Regions from separate parts of the Homo sapiens genome. Here regions 1, 2, 3, 4 and 5 are each linked to region 6. Evidence: promoter capture Hi-C in human tissues and cell types (Jung and others, 2019). All regions are on one chromosome and are shown on one strand. Each heading gives the region's core, a stretch centred on a gene start or on the middle of the fragment in contact. The rest is flanking DNA. Distances are from core to core; before and after follow the strand shown. Region 1 overlaps RSRC1 (arginine and serine rich coiled-coil 1). Region 2 has its middle 210 kb from the start of VEPH1. Region 3 overlaps RSRC1 (arginine and serine rich coiled-coil 1). Region 4 overlaps RSRC1 (arginine and serine rich coiled-coil 1). Region 5 has its middle 260 kb from the start of SHOX2. Region 6 holds the start of SHOX2 (SHOX homeobox 2).

The links. The method cuts DNA at HindIII sites, captures the fragments that hold promoters and counts their contacts. A contact is called where the count stands out against the background at its distance.
Region 1: a fragment that was not itself captured here is called in contact with the fragment with the promoter of SHOX2 in region 6 in 2 of the 25 tissues and cell types used here (lymphoblastoid cells and small bowel).
Region 2: a contact is called between a fragment that was not itself captured here and the fragment with the promoter of SHOX2 in region 6, in 1 of the 25 tissues and cell types used here (dorsolateral prefrontal cortex).
Region 3: a fragment that was not itself captured here is called in contact with the fragment with the promoter of SHOX2 in region 6 in 3 of the 25 tissues and cell types used here (IMR-90 fibroblasts, lymphoblastoid cells and mesenchymal stem cells).
Region 4: a fragment that was not itself captured here is called in contact with the fragment with the promoter of SHOX2 in region 6 in 1 of the 25 tissues and cell types used here (lymphoblastoid cells).
Region 5: a contact is called between a fragment that was not itself captured here and the fragment with the promoter of SHOX2 in region 6, in 2 of the 25 tissues and cell types used here (heart left ventricle and lymphoblastoid cells).

The regions. Positions count from the first base shown.
Region 1 is chr3:158,385,717-158,388,419 of GRCh38, reverse strand. All of the region lies in intron 6 of RSRC1 (arginine and serine rich coiled-coil 1), which reads right to left. Among named protein-coding and RNA genes, the nearest start is that of UC.134, 140 kb to the left of the region's middle. The HindIII fragment of the contact is 5,653 bases long and covers 1-2,703 here.
Region 2 is chr3:157,711,134-157,714,264 of GRCh38, reverse strand. No RefSeq gene overlaps it. Among named protein-coding and RNA genes, the nearest start is that of VEPH1, 210 kb to the right of the region's middle. The HindIII fragment of the contact is 3,724 bases long and covers 1-3,131 here.
Region 3 is chr3:158,361,685-158,364,691 of GRCh38, reverse strand. The region is part of intron 6 of RSRC1 (arginine and serine rich coiled-coil 1); the gene reads right to left. Among named protein-coding and RNA genes, the nearest start is that of UC.134, 160 kb to the left of the region's middle. The HindIII fragment of the contact is 5,175 bases long and covers 1-3,007 here.
Region 4 is chr3:158,408,228-158,411,203 of GRCh38, reverse strand. The region is part of intron 6 of RSRC1 (arginine and serine rich coiled-coil 1); the gene reads right to left. Among named protein-coding and RNA genes, the nearest start is that of UC.134, 120 kb to the left of the region's middle. RefSeq lists an enhancer at 1-515. The HindIII fragment of the contact is 7,910 bases long and covers 1-2,976 here.
Region 5 is chr3:157,844,502-157,847,277 of GRCh38, reverse strand. No RefSeq gene overlaps it. Among named protein-coding and RNA genes, the nearest start is that of SHOX2, 260 kb to the left of the region's middle. The HindIII fragment of the contact is 4,143 bases long and covers 1-2,776 here.
Region 6 is chr3:158,104,955-158,107,945 of GRCh38, reverse strand. It overlaps SHOX2 (SHOX homeobox 2), which reads left to right and starts at 1,526. Exons shown (of 5, transcript NM_001163678.2): 1 at 1,526-2,267. The coding sequence starts at 1,922. RefSeq lists an enhancer at 835-1,338 and a silencer at 2,087-2,136. The HindIII fragment of the contact is 9,488 bases long and covers 1-2,991 here.

The sequences.
Region 1 (2,703 bases), core at 23-2,522, 280 kb before region 6:
GAGTATATGGGAATCATGAAATAATGTAAAGGGTGATATCTTGAAAATGGTTACAGTACACACAACATAAAGTAATATTACTGTTAATATATCAAGGATTATTTTTCCATAAATATGTTTAAAAAGTTATTTAAAAATAATCTCATTATGTCTAAGAATCAATTTTTAAAAATAATTTAGCTCCCATTTTATAATGGAAACAAGAAAATAAATCCATTTATAAAATTTTATATAATATTAATGTTTGATAAAATATATATATATTCAAATGAATAAAGAAAGCTTCCATAGCAGTCAGCCAATGTCTTACAAAGATCAACAACTGGAATATTGCACTAGGTAAATAAGTTTTTCTAATCTAGTTATTAATTTCATTTATTACTTCTTGATACTTATTTGACACTTCCAGTACATTAAACCAACTTTCTTAGCCTGCCAAAAATGATAGATTATGCTTCTGTGCATTCCTTTTGTTATCACCATGTCTATTTTCAGTATATGTGCATGTGTGCGTTTGTCACTGAGATGCCTTAAGAACCTCTAGTGAGGATAAAAAGCCAGCTATATTGAGAAGACTCATTTCACAAAACATTCTATGCATCAAACTATGATTTCTTTTTAAAGCAAACGTTTTAAAAATAATGATACAAGAAGGAAAAATGACCCTTTCTTCTCCAACTAAATCTTATCCTTGGTCACACACTAAAAGGTTTTCATGATATTTTGTCTGGATCTGGAATGTAAACCATACCAATACTTGTAAGGATTTACAGTTTTTCCCCTTTATTTCACAGTAGTTTAAATTATTAACAAAGATATTAAGGCACTGAGTCCAGTGAAAAACTATGGAATTTTAAGTGCAAATACTGTAGATGACCAATGAATTTGGTGTGGATGGTTCATACTTATGTTATGCATTCTAGTTGACTTAATTTTTTTATTTAATAAGCTAAAGGAACTACTCTAAGGCTAAATGTTACCACTATTATTTGACTGATAGGCTGTTTCTGTCTCTTACTAAGCAACCAGTATTCACTTGATTATACTGGTCCTTTTTAAAGTTCCCAAATTGCTTGATCAGTATTCCAGGCCAAAAGTTGGAGTAGTCCAGAACCTAATGCCATAGATAAATCCCAAAGGGAGATAGGAAACTTCTCTGACCAGAAGGTTTTATAATTAAACGTGACTGAATGGCTCTTAATTGCCTGTAGTACTCAGAGAAATGAGACAGGTTTATCAAAGATAATCCTTATATTTGTATTTGAGACATATATAGAGGCAGATATTTCCCTAATTACTCAGAGGTCATATCTGGAAAACTGTAACTAAACCAACCACTTTTTTTTTAATGAAAATGTCACAAAGAAATGTAATTTCACATGTGACTTCGGGTTATATTACACAGTATTTTGTTATATAAAACAAGAAATGGTATGTACTTCATGGAATTTCTTTTAAAATAAAATGTTTCTTATTTCATTGTTGTCTGCTCAAAATATTCATTTTATTTCCATGTACTACCATGGGCAATAAAGCCATTCTTTTCGATGATTTTGCAATAATACGTAATAAAATTATCTTTTTTTTTTTTTTGGTCTAGTGAATACGACTCACATTATGGTCCTGTGAACATGCATGCTGCTCACCTCTTCCCCATTTTAAGAGGCATATAAGTCAATTTACTTAACAACAAAGACTATAAACCCTACATTTCTGCCTTGTAAACTCTGTTAATAACATGGATTCTGATGAAAGTCAATCAATGTTTCCATCTTTTAAACTGCCTTTTCCCCCCAATACAAATTAAACAACAGCTTGGCCATATTGAGGTCCTTAGTTTCATAATAATAGTGTGTTGGTCATATAATATAGCCTCTAGCAGGTATCTCACTACAAGACCTACGTTAACAGTGGTTTAGCTATATTCGTCTATTAAAGAGCTTTTTTTAAGGTGGAAATCTTGTTCTTACTTTATAATGAGAATAAATTGGGCAAAGAGGGATTTACTTTGTTGTCAAAACTAAAATGTATTAAACAAGATTACATACAATTTTAAAATAAATATTTTAAATTGATAAGTTGAACTTCAAGTGTTATAAATTCATACATGTACTTCTCCTATTTAAATTTCTTAATAAATTAATAAGTACTAGTTCATAAAATCTAAATAATAGGCTCATTACCTTAAAAGGGAAAGATGATGTCCACAAAGTTAAAAGACAAAAAACAGCTTTTTTAAAAAATGCCTTTTTTTAAAGCATATACTGTATGTTTTCTAAAACATATAATACCTTAAAAATTTATCCACTCAATAACTTGTAATCATCCCTAAATCTAATGGGACATAAACGCATTTCATCAGAGATGAAATTCTTCAATGACTGCTAAAATGAGAATCAAAAAATTATTATAATCTAGTAGTTTGGCTTGCAGCAAGCATTAATCAGAAGTCATAATAAATCCACATGCTTCTTTAGACAGCACATTAGTCAAAGAGTTTTCTATGATAACGACAATGACTAATGGGCTCTGAGTTAGAAGGGTCAATCATAAACTCATCAAATGCTTCATTTAATTTCTTAATTTGGACAAACACAATTTGTTTATGGGAAAGATATCAGGTGTTCGTGAATGAATAATGGCTATGAAACCAAACTCCATTAATCAGCTCATGATTACAAATGACTTAGAGATTGTTTATTC
Region 2 (3,131 bases), core at 458-2,957, 390 kb after region 6:
AGCATCAGTGATACCCTAAGCAGCGTCCTGCTGCCATCTGTAACAAAAAACATGCTTATTTCTAATTTGTAGCATTCCTCCCCTTTCTGATTATACAAGATGGGTTCATTCATTATTAATCCAGTTTGTCAGACAGCACGGCCCTTCAAGTGTCAGGCTTCCTTGTTTCCAGGCAGTGAGTTTGTGTAGGAGCAATGAAATTTCAGAATGCACAGATCAGCAAGCTCTTGTCTGTACCTGATTAAAGTTGGATAGGCCTACTTAATAGGCTTAAAATAATTCTACATGAAGCAGCAGGACACGTTTCTATATTTGTCCTTATTATTGGAAAGGACATGGACTAAAAAATAATTGTTACTTTTCTTCCAAACTGCATCTGATTTGAAAGGGAGTGAGGAAAAGACAATGATTTCTCTTTGTCTATACCAAAGAGCCTAGAAATTGAAAATAGCAGAGGAGACATAAACTCCTAGGTTACTTTAAAGATAGTAGTTAAACACACACATATACACATGCATGGACACATGCACATACACATACACACAACAATCCTAGCTTTAGGGAACCTACAGCTTAGTGTTAACCAGACTGTGATATCATGCAGTCATTGAAAAAGAGTGTTAGACTTGTCAAATGAAGACTTAGATTCTCAGGAAAGGTGCTTGAACAAATGATCTGTTTATGGGCCATGTGACTGGGTTCCAATGTACACCTGGAGAAAAGAAAAAAGCAATGCATTATGGGGAACAGACATGGATACTATGCACTTCAAAACAGTAATTATTATGTAATAGACTGAGAAATAATCTCTAGCTTATTTCCAAGCCATTTGAGTGAGCACTGGAATAATTTTTCTTTTGTATCACCTAGCTTTAGAGGAAGTGGGTAAATAAAAAGACTGAGTGACAAAAGCTTGAACTACATACAGGCATGCCTTTGAGATATTGTGGATTTGGTTCCAGACCACTGCAATAGAGCAAATATCACAATAAAGTGAGTCACACTATATTTTTTTGTTTCCTAGTGCATATAAAAGGTCTGTTTACCTTATGCTGTAGTCTATCTATTAAGTGTGCAATAGCATTATGTCTGAAAAACAATGTACATACCTTAGTAAAAAAATACTTTATTGCTAGGAAATGGCAACAATCATCTGAGCACTCAATGAGGTGTAATCTTTTTGCTGGTAGAGGATCTTGCCTCAATGTTGATGGCTGCTGACTGATTAGGGTGGTGATTGCTAAAGGGTTGGGGTGGCAGTTGTAATTTCTTAAAATAAGACAAAAATGAAGTTTGCCACATTGATTGACTCTTCCTTTCTCCAAAGAGTTCTCTTAGCATGCAACGGTGTTGCCTAGCATTTTACCTACAGTAGAACTTCTTTCCAAAGTGGAGTCAATCCTCTCAAACTCTGCCACTGTTTTAGCAATTAAGGTTATGTAATATTTGAAATCCTTTGTTGTTATTTTAACAATATTTACAGCATCTTCACCAGGAGCAGATTCCATCTCAAGAGACCCCTTTCTTTGCTCATCCACAAGAAGCAACTCCTTAGCTCTTCAAATTTGATTATGAGACTGAAGCAATTCAGTCACATCTTTAGGCTTCACTTCTAATTCCAGTTCTTTTGTTATTTCCACAACATCTGCAGTTACTTCCTCCACTGAAGTCTTTAACCTCTCAAAGTCATCTGTGAGGGTTGGAATCAATTTCTTCCACATGCTTGTTGACCTTGATATTTTGACCTCCTCCCATGAATCATGAACATTCTTAATGCATCTCGAATGTGAGTCCTTCTCAGACGGATTTCAATTTGCTTTGCCCAGATCCATCAGAGCAATCACTATTCATGGCATCTTACAGAATGTATTTCTTAAATAATAAGGCTTGAAAGTCAAAATTACTCCTTGACCCATAAGGTGTAAAATGGAGGGATTAGCAGGCGTGTAAACAACATTAATCTCCTTGTACATCTCCATCAGAGCCCTTAAGTGACCAGGTGCCTTGTCAAGAAGCAGTAATATTTTGAGAAGCATCTATTTCTGAGCAGTGGATCTCAACAGTAGGGTTAAAATATTCAGAAAACCATGTAAACAGTTATACTATCATCCAGGTTTTGTTGTTCCATTTATAGTGCACAGGCAGAATAGATTTAGCATAATTCTTAAGGCACTAGGATTTTTGGAATGGTAAATGGACATTGGCTTCAACTGAAGTCACTAGCTGCATTAGTTACTAACAATAGAGTCAGCCTGTTGTTTGAAGATCTGAGGTTAGGCATTGACTTCTCTTCTCTAGCTATGAAAGTTCTAGATGACATCTTCTTTCAATAGGCTGTTTCATCTACATTGAAAATCTGTTGTTTAGTGTAGCCACCTTCATCAGTTATCTTAGCTAGCTCTTCTGGAAAACTTGCTGCAGTTTCTACATCAGCACTTCCTACTTCACTTCCAGCTTTGTACTTTGATGTTATGGAGGTAGCTTCCTTCCTTAACCCTCATGAACTAACTTCTGCTAGCTTCAAACTTCCCCTCCATGACTTTCTCACCTCTCTCAGCTTCATAACAGTGAACAGTTAAGGCCTTGCTCTGGATTAGTCTTTGGCTTAAAGGAATGTTGTGGCTGGTTTGACCTTCTATCAAGATCACTAAAACTTTCTCCTTAACAGCAATAAGGCTGCTGTACTTTTTTTTTTTTTAATCATTTTTGTGTTCATTAAAAGTCAGTAGCATTTTTAACTTCTTTCAGGAACATTTTCTTTGGATTCACAACTTAGCTAACTATTTGGCACAAGAGGTCTAGCTTTTGGCCTATCTTAGCATTCAACCTGCCTTCCTCACTAAGCTTCATCATTTTAAGCTTTTGATTTCAAATGAAAGACTTGCCACTCTTTTCAGTTGAACACTTAAAGACCATTGTAGGGTTATTAACTGGCTCAATTTTAATATTGTTGTGTCTCAGGGAGCAGTGAGGCCTGAGGAGTGAGAGAGAGACAGGAGCTGGGCAGTCAGTGGAGCAGTTAGAGTACACACAACATTTATTGATTGAGTTCACTATCTTACATGGATGTAGTTCATGGCACTCCAAGACAATTACAATAGTAACATCAAAGATTATTGGTCACAAATCAC
Region 3 (3,007 bases), core at 163-2,662, 260 kb before region 6:
ACAATATTGTCTTTCATACTTACTGCTAACATTAACTGAATACTTACTATGTATCAGGTACTGCTCTAAGTGTTTTATAAATACTAACTCATTGAAATCCATAACAACAACCCATTAGTTATGTACTATTAGTATCTCTGTTTTACAGATGAGGAAACTACAGGACAGTAAATAAAAAGTGATCTGCTCAAGCTCACAGTTTGTTAGTGAAACAATATAAATCTGGACTACCAAAACACAATCAAGCATAAGCCTATATAGGGGAAAAAAGAAGTCTGTAAACTATTTATATGAAATAAAAATAAACGTTTCAATCTCCTGCTCTTTTTGGGGGGTTTGCCCTAACATGAAAGGCTCTCTCACAATAAATCAGTACTATTTCTCGGAGCCATAGATAGTGAGTGGTCAGAAACCTACAGACAAAACCTCTTTCAGCTTTAGATCAGGGTAAAGCAGAGCAGCTTTCTATGCTCCCCGGAAACAGTACAACATTATCAAAGCAATCTGATTTGTAATTCTTTGAATTACACATATTTAACACTACAACGGACTTTAGAGAAGTGTTGGGAGTCCTAAGGATCACATGGCTATGAAGAGAAAGGGTCAGGACTTGGCTTCCAGGTACTTAATAGGCAACTAAGAGAATAAAATCTCAGTTTAACAGGCTGCAGAAAAATTGGGATGGGGTGAGGCACTTATGGCGTACTACTCAGCAAAGCTTATTACTTGGATACAGTATGTATAACTGATCTGTGTTTTGATAACACTTAACCAGTTTCTCTCCTAGGAAGGGTCCCTAAAATTCACTTCCATAGCTAGGTGTTAGAAAAAAATCATAAAACATTACTTTAGATTTTTCAAAGTTATAAATTTAGCTACTATAAACACTCTACATAGTCAAGGAAAATAACTTATTGTTCCTAAATGATGCTTTAATCCCTTTGTGGTATCAATAAGAAAACTTACTTCAGAATCAGAGGCTTACTTGAGGATAGAAATTATTTTATTTTAAGATAATTGTAGAAGGAAGTCTTATAGAATAAGGTTATGCATTTTGTAATATTATCTATTGCCTTTCTGCCTAACATAACTCAGGTATTTAACTTATGAATTAGAAGTAGCTCGAGGGCTGGGCATGGTGGCTCACGCCTGTAATCCCACCACTTTGGGAGGCCGAGGCGGTCAGATCACTTGAGGTCAGGTGTTCAAGACCAGCCTGGCCAACATGGTAAAACCCCGTCTCCACCAAAAATACAAAAAATTAGCTGGGTGTGGTGGTGCGCACCTGTGATCCCAGCTACTTGGGAGGCTAAGGCAGGAGAATCTCTTGAACCTAGAAGACAGAGGACGTGGTGAGCCGAGCTTGTGCCACTGTACTCCAGCCTGGGTGACAGAGCAAGACTATGTCAAAAAAAAAAAAAAGAAAAAAAAAGTAGCTGGAGAGTCAGAAATCACTGGAGTTAAGTCCTGATTCTATCACTTATTAGCTCTGTAACTTTTTACAAGTCATTTAAGCTTTCAGAATACTTGTAAACTGGACCTAATTAACTCTCCATGCAGTGATATGAGTCAAAAGATAAAGATTTATTAAAGTGCTTTGAAAACTATAAGGTACAATCCAAAGGTTGTAGATACTATGCAGAAAATGAAATACTGTTATGCAGAGATTTTATAAGTTGTTTTACCACATATGTACAAAAAGAAATTTCTATCTTTTCTTATAACATTAGAAATATAATTTTAAAGGTGCATGTGTCAATTCTATTAAAAGTAAAATATTGAGAAGGCTTCAAAGAAAATTGTGTTACAGGTATTGTCTTCTCATACTGATAAAAAATATCTTTTGGAAAAATCTCTCTTCTAAATTCTTTAGACCCATGGACACATTTGGGATAAGATGATAATACGTTTTTGCAGAAAATCTAGATAATGTTTGGAATGGGGCTATCAAGACAAACAAAGGCAACAGCAAAAGTGATGGAGACAAAGGAGTCCTTACCTAAACTTCCTGTTTTCCCTCCATCCCCTGTGAAATAATCATGTTTTACTGTCTTTTCTGTCAAGCGCTGTCTTAAAGTTTAAGTGTAAAAAGTCAGGTTATGTCATATATCTTCTGCTTTTGAAGCTAGGTAACATCTTAGTATATTTATTATAAAATCCATCAAACAGCAGTTAAAATGAGCACATCAGCATCTAAATGTTTTTCAGACAGCTAGATCCTCTGTTTCTCTACAATGACTTACTTACAAAAGATTAACAGCTAAAATGTTCTCTGATGTAGTACTACTATAGGTATTGTTAAAACTGCTGGGAAAGATGTAGAAGTTTTAAATGTAATTTCTATTTTTTTTGAGACAGGGTCTTACTCTGTCACCCACACTGGAGTGCAGTGGCGCAATCACAGCTCACGGAACCCTTGACTTCACTCGGGCACAAGCAATGTCCCACCTCAGCCTCCCAAGAGGCTAGGACCAGAAGCATGTGCCACCATGCCTGGCTAATTTTTGTATTTTTTTGTAGAGACAGGGTTTTACCATGTTGCCTAGGCTGGTCTCGAACTCCTGGGCTCAAATGATCCTCCCATCTTGGCCTCCTACAGTGCTGGGATTATAGGAGTGAGCCACCATGTCTGGATAAATATACAGTTCCTGACCTTTGGAAGTTTATTTCATTGGAAAAATAAGTATAACATTCATGAAACAACTAAATATTAATATCAGCAGTGTATGAATCAACATCAATATAAATGGTGTGCAAAGACAGGACTAAAAGAATTCAAATGAGGAGAGAAACATTAGGTACTGGAATGGTCAGGGAAAAGATGTGGAAATCTTGTTTTAGAAGAGCCTTGGAGTGTTTGGAGAGGGGGAAAAGGAAGAAAGAAGGCATTTATAGAAGAGAAAAACAATGTGCAAAGCTTCCCAGGTAGAAAAGAATACGGGAAACTTGAAGACCAATGGAAAAAGCACAGTAATGAATTCTAGAAGATAAAGTTAGAAAAGTCTGT
Region 4 (2,976 bases), core at 477-2,976, 300 kb before region 6:
ATCAACAGCAGAAATTTCGGTTAAAAAAAGTTTGTAATATGTTCATAAAATGAAATATTATATAGCACAAAATGAACATGCTGCAGCTACATGCACATAGATGAATCTTAAGAACAACACTGAGAAACAGAACACCCAGAGAATGCATACTGTATGATTCCCATTCAAAAGAAGCAAAACTTAACTGTAGTACTTAGCAATACATAGTGAAACTACAAAGAAAAGCAAGAAAGTGCTCAACATAATAAAAGAGAAGGTGATAGTTCTGACAGGAACTATCAGAAGATGGGGGCTTCTGAGGTGCTGGCAAAGTGTTTGTTGATCTGGATGGTGTAACACAAGTACTGATTTACAATAATTGCTTTATAATATTATATATTCTATTATAATACTGCTTTATAATAATTTGGTGAACTATACATTTATCTATTTTTCTCTGAGTTATAGTTCATATTACAAAGCATCAGAAAAAAATCCTAAGGGCAATTATAAATGCTGAATAGCTGAAATTACAAGAGTTGAAAGATTTTTACAAAGATAGATGATAGAGATAGACAGCTAGATAGCTAGATACTTTTTGAGCACCTTCTATATGCTAGGAACTATGCTAGGTGTTGAAGACATGGTATACAAAACAGATACGGTCTGACCATAAAAGTCTTATTTATTTTTTTACCATAAAAGTCGTGAGAGAGAAACATCAGACAATCATGAAAATCATTTTAAATCAAAAAGTTTGTTGATTACTATGAAAGAAGTTTGTGATGCTTTGAGAGAAGCTGTTATAACCTAGTGTTAGGTGTCAGGAATGTTTCACTGAGATATAAAGTTTAAGCTGAAACTTTAATAATAAGCCTAAATTCATCTGGGAGAGAGGGAAGAGGTAAGTATTTCAGGTAGATGGAAAAACAGGTACAAACCAAGGAACTAAAAAAGCAAGCCAATGGGTTAGAGTGGTCCAGGATGAGACTGGAGAAGTAGACATGAGCAAACCATGGAAGCTTGTAGCTATATTAAGAATTCCAGTAGGTAACAACAAATAGCTGAATTAATAAACAAATGAACAAAGAAAATTGCCCGCTTTTTTTAAAAAATAGTAACTTCATTACAATTCTGTTAAGAAACCATTTTACTGTGATTTTGTTTGAATGTATGAGACTATGACTGTAAAACTTTCCTATATCCTTTCACAAATGTTTCCTAGAATTGTGTTCTAAATGCTATCACTTATATCAAATGACAATTGAACAGATAAATCATTCTCTTTTACTAAAAAAAAAAGAATTCTGAAATTGTATCCTATGGGCAGATGGAAGCCATTGAAGGGTTCAGTGCAGGAGATTAATAGGATCCGATTTACAGATTTTCATATGCCCTCTTTTATTATTCTAATGGTTTTTTCTAATTTTTGCTTTCATCATCTCATTCACAGCACAACTCATCATTAACCTTCTGACCCCAACAAAGTTATCATCCTAAAGCACAGTTCATATCACAAAACTCTCTTTGGTGATAATAGGCAATAGCTCTCAGGAGACTGTAAGTTTAATGAGCACCTACCATGTGCCAGTCAGTCTTCTAGGATGGGGGACATGTTATTGAACAAATAGGCAAAATTCCTGCTTTTAGGGAGCTCACTTTCTAGTAAGAAAGCCTGAGGCTAACCCACTAATCAGACATAAAATACAATGTTAGGGAGTGGTGAATGTGATAAAGAAAAATAAAGCAAATAAAGAAAATAAATAGATTTAATAAAATCAAGAAACAACAAATATAACAAAACATTATGTCCCTCTCTGTTCAACTGCTCCTCTAACAAGTTTTGTGTATACCTATATTTGTGACTTGCTGGACTCTTTATATCCCTCTAGTTGCTCTCACTTTGCATTTTGTGAATTCAAATGCAGCATTTTTTAAACTTTTAAGTTCAGGGTATGTGTGTAGGTTTGTTACACAGGCAAACTTGTGTCCTGGGGGTTTACTGTATAGATTATTTCACCATCCACCTATTAAGCCTAGTATCCATTAGTTATTGTTCCTGATCCTATCCCTCCTCTCACCCTCCACCTTCCAATAGGCCCCAGTGTGTGCTGTTGTTCCCCTCTACGTGTCTGTGTGTTCTCATCATTTAGCTCCCACTTATTTTATTAATTATTATTATTATTATTATTCAGACGGAATCTTGTCTTGTTGCCCAGGCTGGAGTGCAGTAGCGTGATCTCGGCTCACTGCAACCTCTGCCTCCTGGGTTCAAGCAATTCTCCTGCCTCAGCCTCCCAAGTAGCTGGGATTACAAGCCTGAGCCACCATGTCCAGCTAATTTTTATATTTTTAGTAGAGACGGGGGTCTCACCATGTTGGCCAGGCTGGTCTCAAACTCCTGGCCTCAAGTGATCCCCCTACCTTGGTCTCCTAAAGTGCTGGGATTACAGGCACGAGCCACCACGCCTGGCCTGGCTCCCACTTATAAGTGAAAACATGTGGTATTTGGTTTTCTGTTCCTGTGTTAGTTTGCTAAGGATAATGGTCTCCAGCTGCAGCCATGTCCCTGCATAGGACATATTTTTTCCTAGGTCATCAGTGTTTTTAAAAGAAGCTAAGAGATCTTAATTCACTCTAAATGATTACTGGAGATAAAACGTAAACAAAATCTCTAAATTTGCTCATTTTTTTTCTGCGATGCCTATTTGCCTTTCCTTATTCCTTAGCTATAACGTGAGGTTTTAGTAATAAGTTCATAAGTTAGTGTTTTTCAAGATAGCAAATTATCAGACTATGTCTGCATTACCATTTCTGTTATATGGCTAGATGGCCTGTTACCTTTATCAGGAGGCTCAATATGCCAGTGTTGACTAAATTTAGCAGTAATAAATCATGCTTATGTTTACTCTTTGACTTCTAAGTACAACTGCTATATTTTCCATATGTCTCTGGTGACTAAAACTCTCTAAAAACGACAGCTAAATACATCAGTTA
Region 5 (2,776 bases), core at 197-2,696, 260 kb after region 6:
AATTCAGAATACTATGAAAAGTATGGGCAGGTAAATTATTATAATAGAGAAAATAGGACTATGAATATAAAGGAGGGGAGAATATTTTTCCTGGGAAAGCCTAATCTGGGAAAGCCTCATGGATGAGGATGAATGGATCTTATTGAATAGGTAAGATTTAGGGGCAGAATGGAGGGAAGGCAGAAGGTGGCAGACAGGACAAATTATGTTCAGGGAACAATTAGTTGATCAGTTAACCCTAAAGAGAGAATTCATAAACCTTTAGGTTATAATCAGATTATACAGAGTGTTTAACCACTTTAAGTATGCAAGGTTAAGACATTTAAACTTTGTTCTGTTGGCAGCAGGGAACCATGACCTTCTCAAATAGGGGAGTTAAATCAGCAACAAGCATTTCAGAAAGATTAATCTGTTGGCCAGTATAGCCTGGAATCAGAAGGGAAACTAGAGACAAACAGATCATTCAGTAGGCACAATTAAGAGGTGGTGAAGGGCTGAGTGGTGGAGATGAAAAGGATGGGGAGAATGAAGTTGCATTATTGCACCAAATTACCAACAAATGGTTACTGGCTAGACATGTGACAAAGTAGCTTCAAGCTCAGTAACACTCATAGAAATGGGGAATTCATCAGTAGGGGATAAGTTTTGTATAAATTTTCATCAAGTAAAGTTTGGCAAAATATTCAAGTGGGATTGTTTGGTAACTATTCAAGATTGACACTAAAAACATAGATTTGGACATTATCAGTAAGATGTTAAGAAGACAGTGGTGGAAAGGAGAGCTGATCAGTGAGATTAAGTTTTATAAGTTTGGGAGTAGAAGAAAAGAATGATGCATGAAGATGGCTAGAGGAGGCTACTAGGCCAAGTGTTTCTCTTCTTTTTCTTTTTTTCCAAAGGATGGGGAAGGCATGTGAAGTTTAAAGTTAGAGGTGAGGGTGCCGGACGCAGTGGCTCATGCTTGTAATCCCAGCACTTTGGGAGGCTGAGGCGGGTGGATCATCTGAGGTCAGGAGTTCGAGACTAGCCTGACCAACATGGTGAAACCTCATCTCTACTAAATACAAAAAAATTAGCTGGTTGTGGCGGGCACCTGTAATCCTAGCTACTTGGGAGGGTGAGGCAGGAGAATCACTTGAACCTGGGAGGCAGAGTTTGCAGTGAGCCGAGATCACGCTATTGCACTCCAGCCTGGACAACAAGAGCGAAACTCCATCTCAAAATAAATAAATAAATAAATAAATAAATAAATAAATAGTTAGAGGTGATGGGAAGGAATAAAAGGTATTTAAGAGGGAATACTCGGGGAGAGGGGGCTTAATGGGAAATATGAAATCAAGAGTCAGATTGAGATGAGACTCACGATATGATGACTATTTTCCTTGCCATATCCTAGGTAACTTCCTCTAAGGTTTTGCATGACGTTTATAAGACAGCTTACTCAGGATAGTTAAACCTGGATGAAGGAAGATGAATTTGTGTGTATTTTCTAACTTTTCCTTGGATAAGACTGTCTACATTGAATGGAGCTGCAAAATAATGCTGCTGCCTCATTTTGCAAAATCAGTAAAACTCCAGATATGGATTCTCTGTAGCCTAGTGGTTGTAGGTGAGATAGTTTGCTTCTTAAATTATGCTGGGAAAATAAGGAAAAATGCAAGCATTTCCTGACATAAAATTAGGAAAATGAATCTGTCAACTGCTGAATATTGTTAGAGTGCTAGGGTTTGGATTTGCACTGTTTGATGTCACAATTAATTTATCATTGTCAAAGTATGACTTCCTGTTTTTGACCCCACACCAAAAAGGCATAAAGGAGTTTGTGAAGGAAAGCTTCTTGGAAATCAAATGGCTCGTCCAAAACAGCATTTTAATGATTTAAGTAAAAACGAATCAGAAACATGTGGATTTAATTTCCCTTAAAATTCACATGGGTTTGAAATTTAAAGGAAAATAGTACTTGGCACAATGTGTTTAGGGTTTGGTTAAACTCAAAACATTTGAAAAACCCTTTGGAACACTGGTGACTTCAAAATACATATGGGCTTGCCCATCCATGTGGGCATGGTTACAAAACCCTCATCCTTCGTGGCACTGTTCAAACATTCTATCAACATGTTTTGGTTTTCACAGGCTTAATTAGGATAAAAATAGCAAATTGTATTAATTGCCTACTGTGTGCTATCAATAAAGTAGAGAGCCAAAGTTTTCCCCTTTTCACAGCTAGGAAGTCTTTACTGGAATGTGGTCAAGGGAAATCCCCACACAGACAGTCAGAATGGGCCTCTAGCACAATGCTTTGAAAATGAGAATTCTGTTACATTAACCATTCATACTCATATCCCCTGCTATTGCACAACTCCATTAAATTTCAGGAGCATGAAAAAGAGAAACGTTATGCTATGGAGTACTGAGTTGGTAATCAAACATTGCCTTGGATTTTAAACAGTTACTTTAAAAGGTCATTTTGGTGTGTGCTGAAAAGGCAATACATACTTAAAATGTTACATTTGGGACATTAATTAAAATATGTAAAGAAGACCATGAAAATGAGGAAAACCAGTGGTTGGCAAAGTAATCTCTTTGCAGTTGCAACCCCCACTCACCCACATGGCAAGCCCAGTTGTTAGCAACTCAGTGACAAGGGTATTTGTAATGAAACCCGCAGAGGTTCTGCCTGATATGTGCTCATATTATTTATAGCCAATTATATTAGTCCCAAAGCTGAGTGACACCTAGGGAGATAATTGAATTTCTTAGATTTCTCCCTTTACAC
Region 6 (2,991 bases), core at 277-2,776:
ATATTCAGAGTACTTGAAAATGTCCCCTAAGCCACACTTAGAGGTATATTTGTTTACACACTTAAATATAACATCATATGTAAATATTCTTTTGTGAGTATGTATTTGCATAGCCACACTTCTCACAGCAAGCCCTGTCCGGCACAATACAGACAAATGACTCAGGAATATAGATGTTCCTCTAACGTAACAAACCGTTCCGATGAAAATAGCCCAGAAATAGAATTTTAAATCGTAAGCGGGGTGGTGGGGGGGGTAGGCAGAGAGACCTTTACTCCTGGCGAGCGTCTCTTTTTTAGCTCTCCGTAATAAATGAAATTAGAGGGGGTACAAACTTAACGTCGATTTTTTTTTCAGACTCGAAGAGGGATAATCTCTTGTTTTTCAAATTAGTAAATAAACTCGGATGTTTCCCAAGATGCTAAAGAAGAAGTCCTGTAATTCACCATAGAGGGGTCCGAGTGCAGAGAGTAAGGGAGAAGGGTGGGAGTTCTGAGACCTCAGAGAGGAAACGAACGAAGTCGAGCTGTCCTTGACCGGGCGCTAAGGAAACACTTTAAAATGAGATCTGTCAGCTAACAGCTGCTGGGGAAACTTGTTAAATCGACTGGTCCCTTTTAGCGGGGTCTGTCCATAGAGGAGTCAGCTGGGCTCCAGGACACGAATAATAGAGCGAATAACACGGACCGAGGGGCGAGGAGCTTGGAGAAGACCCGGACTCAGCCTGCCTGCGAGCCGGGAAGCTCCTAAGAGAAGCTGCGCGGGTCGGAGAAGGTGCAGGCAACCCTGTCTCTGGGCAGGATGATGCTGGGCGGTGGAGCTACGGCCGGCAGGGGTGGGATTGTGAGGGAGAGGCGGGGATGCAGAATTGGGATGCGGGGTCAGGATGCGGGAATGGGATGCGGGGCCTGTAAACTGCTGGGCGGTTGATGCAGGGCAGGGACGAGGAAAAGCAATGCGAAGCTGAGCATTGCGAGGCACCCTGACTCGAAGCAAGGCTGTAGGGAAGGATGCAGTGTCGGGATACCTGACTGACTCTAAGAGCTGCGCACTTGTCAGTTTCCTCTTGGCCCCACCCCGCGGGGTCTATCCAGCTCCCCAGTGTTTAACTAAGTCGTGACACCAACGCAAAATCCACGCCTAATTAAATTAATTAGGGATTCTTGTCAATCCTGGATTAATGGCCAAGAGCACAGGCGGCAGGGGCTATCTGAAAACCTGAGCGGCCGGGGACCGGCCTTCTCTCCCCGCCCCCTCCGGTCCCCCTGTGCTGCCCTACCACTCCAGCCCCAGCCCGCCCGAACTCCAATCTCTCTCTCTCCTCTTCTCTCTCTCTCTCTCTCTCTCTCTCTCTCTCTCTCTCTCTCTCTCTCTGTTTCTCTCCTTTTCCCCTCCCCAACCCCCGGTAGAGGCGCGACTGCTACCCGGGAAGGGGGCTCACTCCGAGTTGCGAGGGGAGGTAATTTACTCAAAACAAGAGGCCGCCGTTAGGAAGTATAAATAGTGGGACTTCAAGCGCAGCGTCGCTATCAGATCTGAACTCTCCGCAGGAAGAATTGTCAAAGATCTTAACATTGAACAAGCGCGCTCCGGCAGGGAAGCATCAGTTCCCATTTCCCTCCGGCAGCCCCCGCCCCTTCTCTTCTCCTCCTCCTCCTCCCTCTCCTCTTCACCCTTCTCCCCCTCTTCCTCTTCTTCCTCCTCCTCCTCTTCTTACTTCTTTTTCTCCTTCTACTTCTCCTCCTCTTTCTTCTTTCTTCTCCTCTTTTTCTTCTTCTTTCTCCTCCTCCCTCTCCTCCCCCACCTCCTGTCCCATTGATGTGTTATTATTGGGGGGGCTGGAGCAGTAAAAAAAGAAGAAGGAAAAAAAGAGCGGGGCTCTGCTGGCAGAGGTTGAGCGCCGGGCTGACGTGCGGCGGCGATGGAAGAACTTACGGCGTTCGTCTCCAAGTCTTTTGACCAGAAAGTGAAGGAGAAGAAGGAGGCGATCACGTACCGGGAGGTGCTGGAGAGCGGGCCGCTGCGCGGGGCCAAGGAGCCGACCGGCTGCACCGAGGCGGGCCGCGACGACCGCAGCAGCCCGGCAGTCCGGGCGGCCGGCGGAGGCGGCGGCGGAGGAGGCGGAGGCGGCGGCGGAGGAGGCGGAGGAGGTGTAGGAGGAGGAGGAGCAGGCGGAGGAGCTGGAGGAGGGCGCTCTCCCGTCCGGGAGCTGGACATGGGCGCCGCCGAGAGAAGCAGGGAGCCGGGCAGCCCGCGACTGACGGAGGGTAACGACCTGACTGACCCCCGGCAGCGGTTCCCCTTCCCGCCTTCCGGACTCCTCTCGGGCGGGAGAGGACTCCGAGGCCCAGCGGGGAGGGGAGAGGGACACGGAGAGGGCCCTGGACCCCAGCTTTGTCAGCTAGAGTGATAGTGGAAGGGTGGGGGTCCGGTGGTATGCTCGGTCATGGGTGGGGTCCTAGTGTGTTGTGGGGGTGGCGTGGGGGGAAGCGTGTGGGGTTTGTGCGCGCCCTTCCCAGATGTTCCCATTCCACCGAAATGCATTTTTCACCAGCGGGAGGATGGGCCCGCAGCCCGGATGGCCCGCAGGCGGACGTGGAAGTTCGCGGGGCCGGGCTGCAGGAGGGGGTGCTGAACCAGACGGCGGGACTAAAGCTAGCCTCTAGCGCAGAGTTTGCCGGGAGGGAGAAGGGGCAGAGGTGGAAAGCTTAACCCTCCGGTCGCCTAGGTGTTTGGGGCCGCCAAGACCCCTCGAACTCCGCAGAGCCCCTGAATCTTTGGATCTTAGGGGCCAAAACTTCCCATTCTCTTTCAAGGTAGAAGGAAGCCAACGAAAGCTGAGGTCCAGGCTACGCTGCTTCTCCCGGGCGAGGCGTTTCGGTTTCTTGGTGTGTTGGGGGCGGGGGGGGGGGGCGGCGGGGGAGGTGGGGATCTATATTTACACAATTCCTTTAGTGTTTTCAATCACCCAGTACTCGGTTCTCTTAGAGC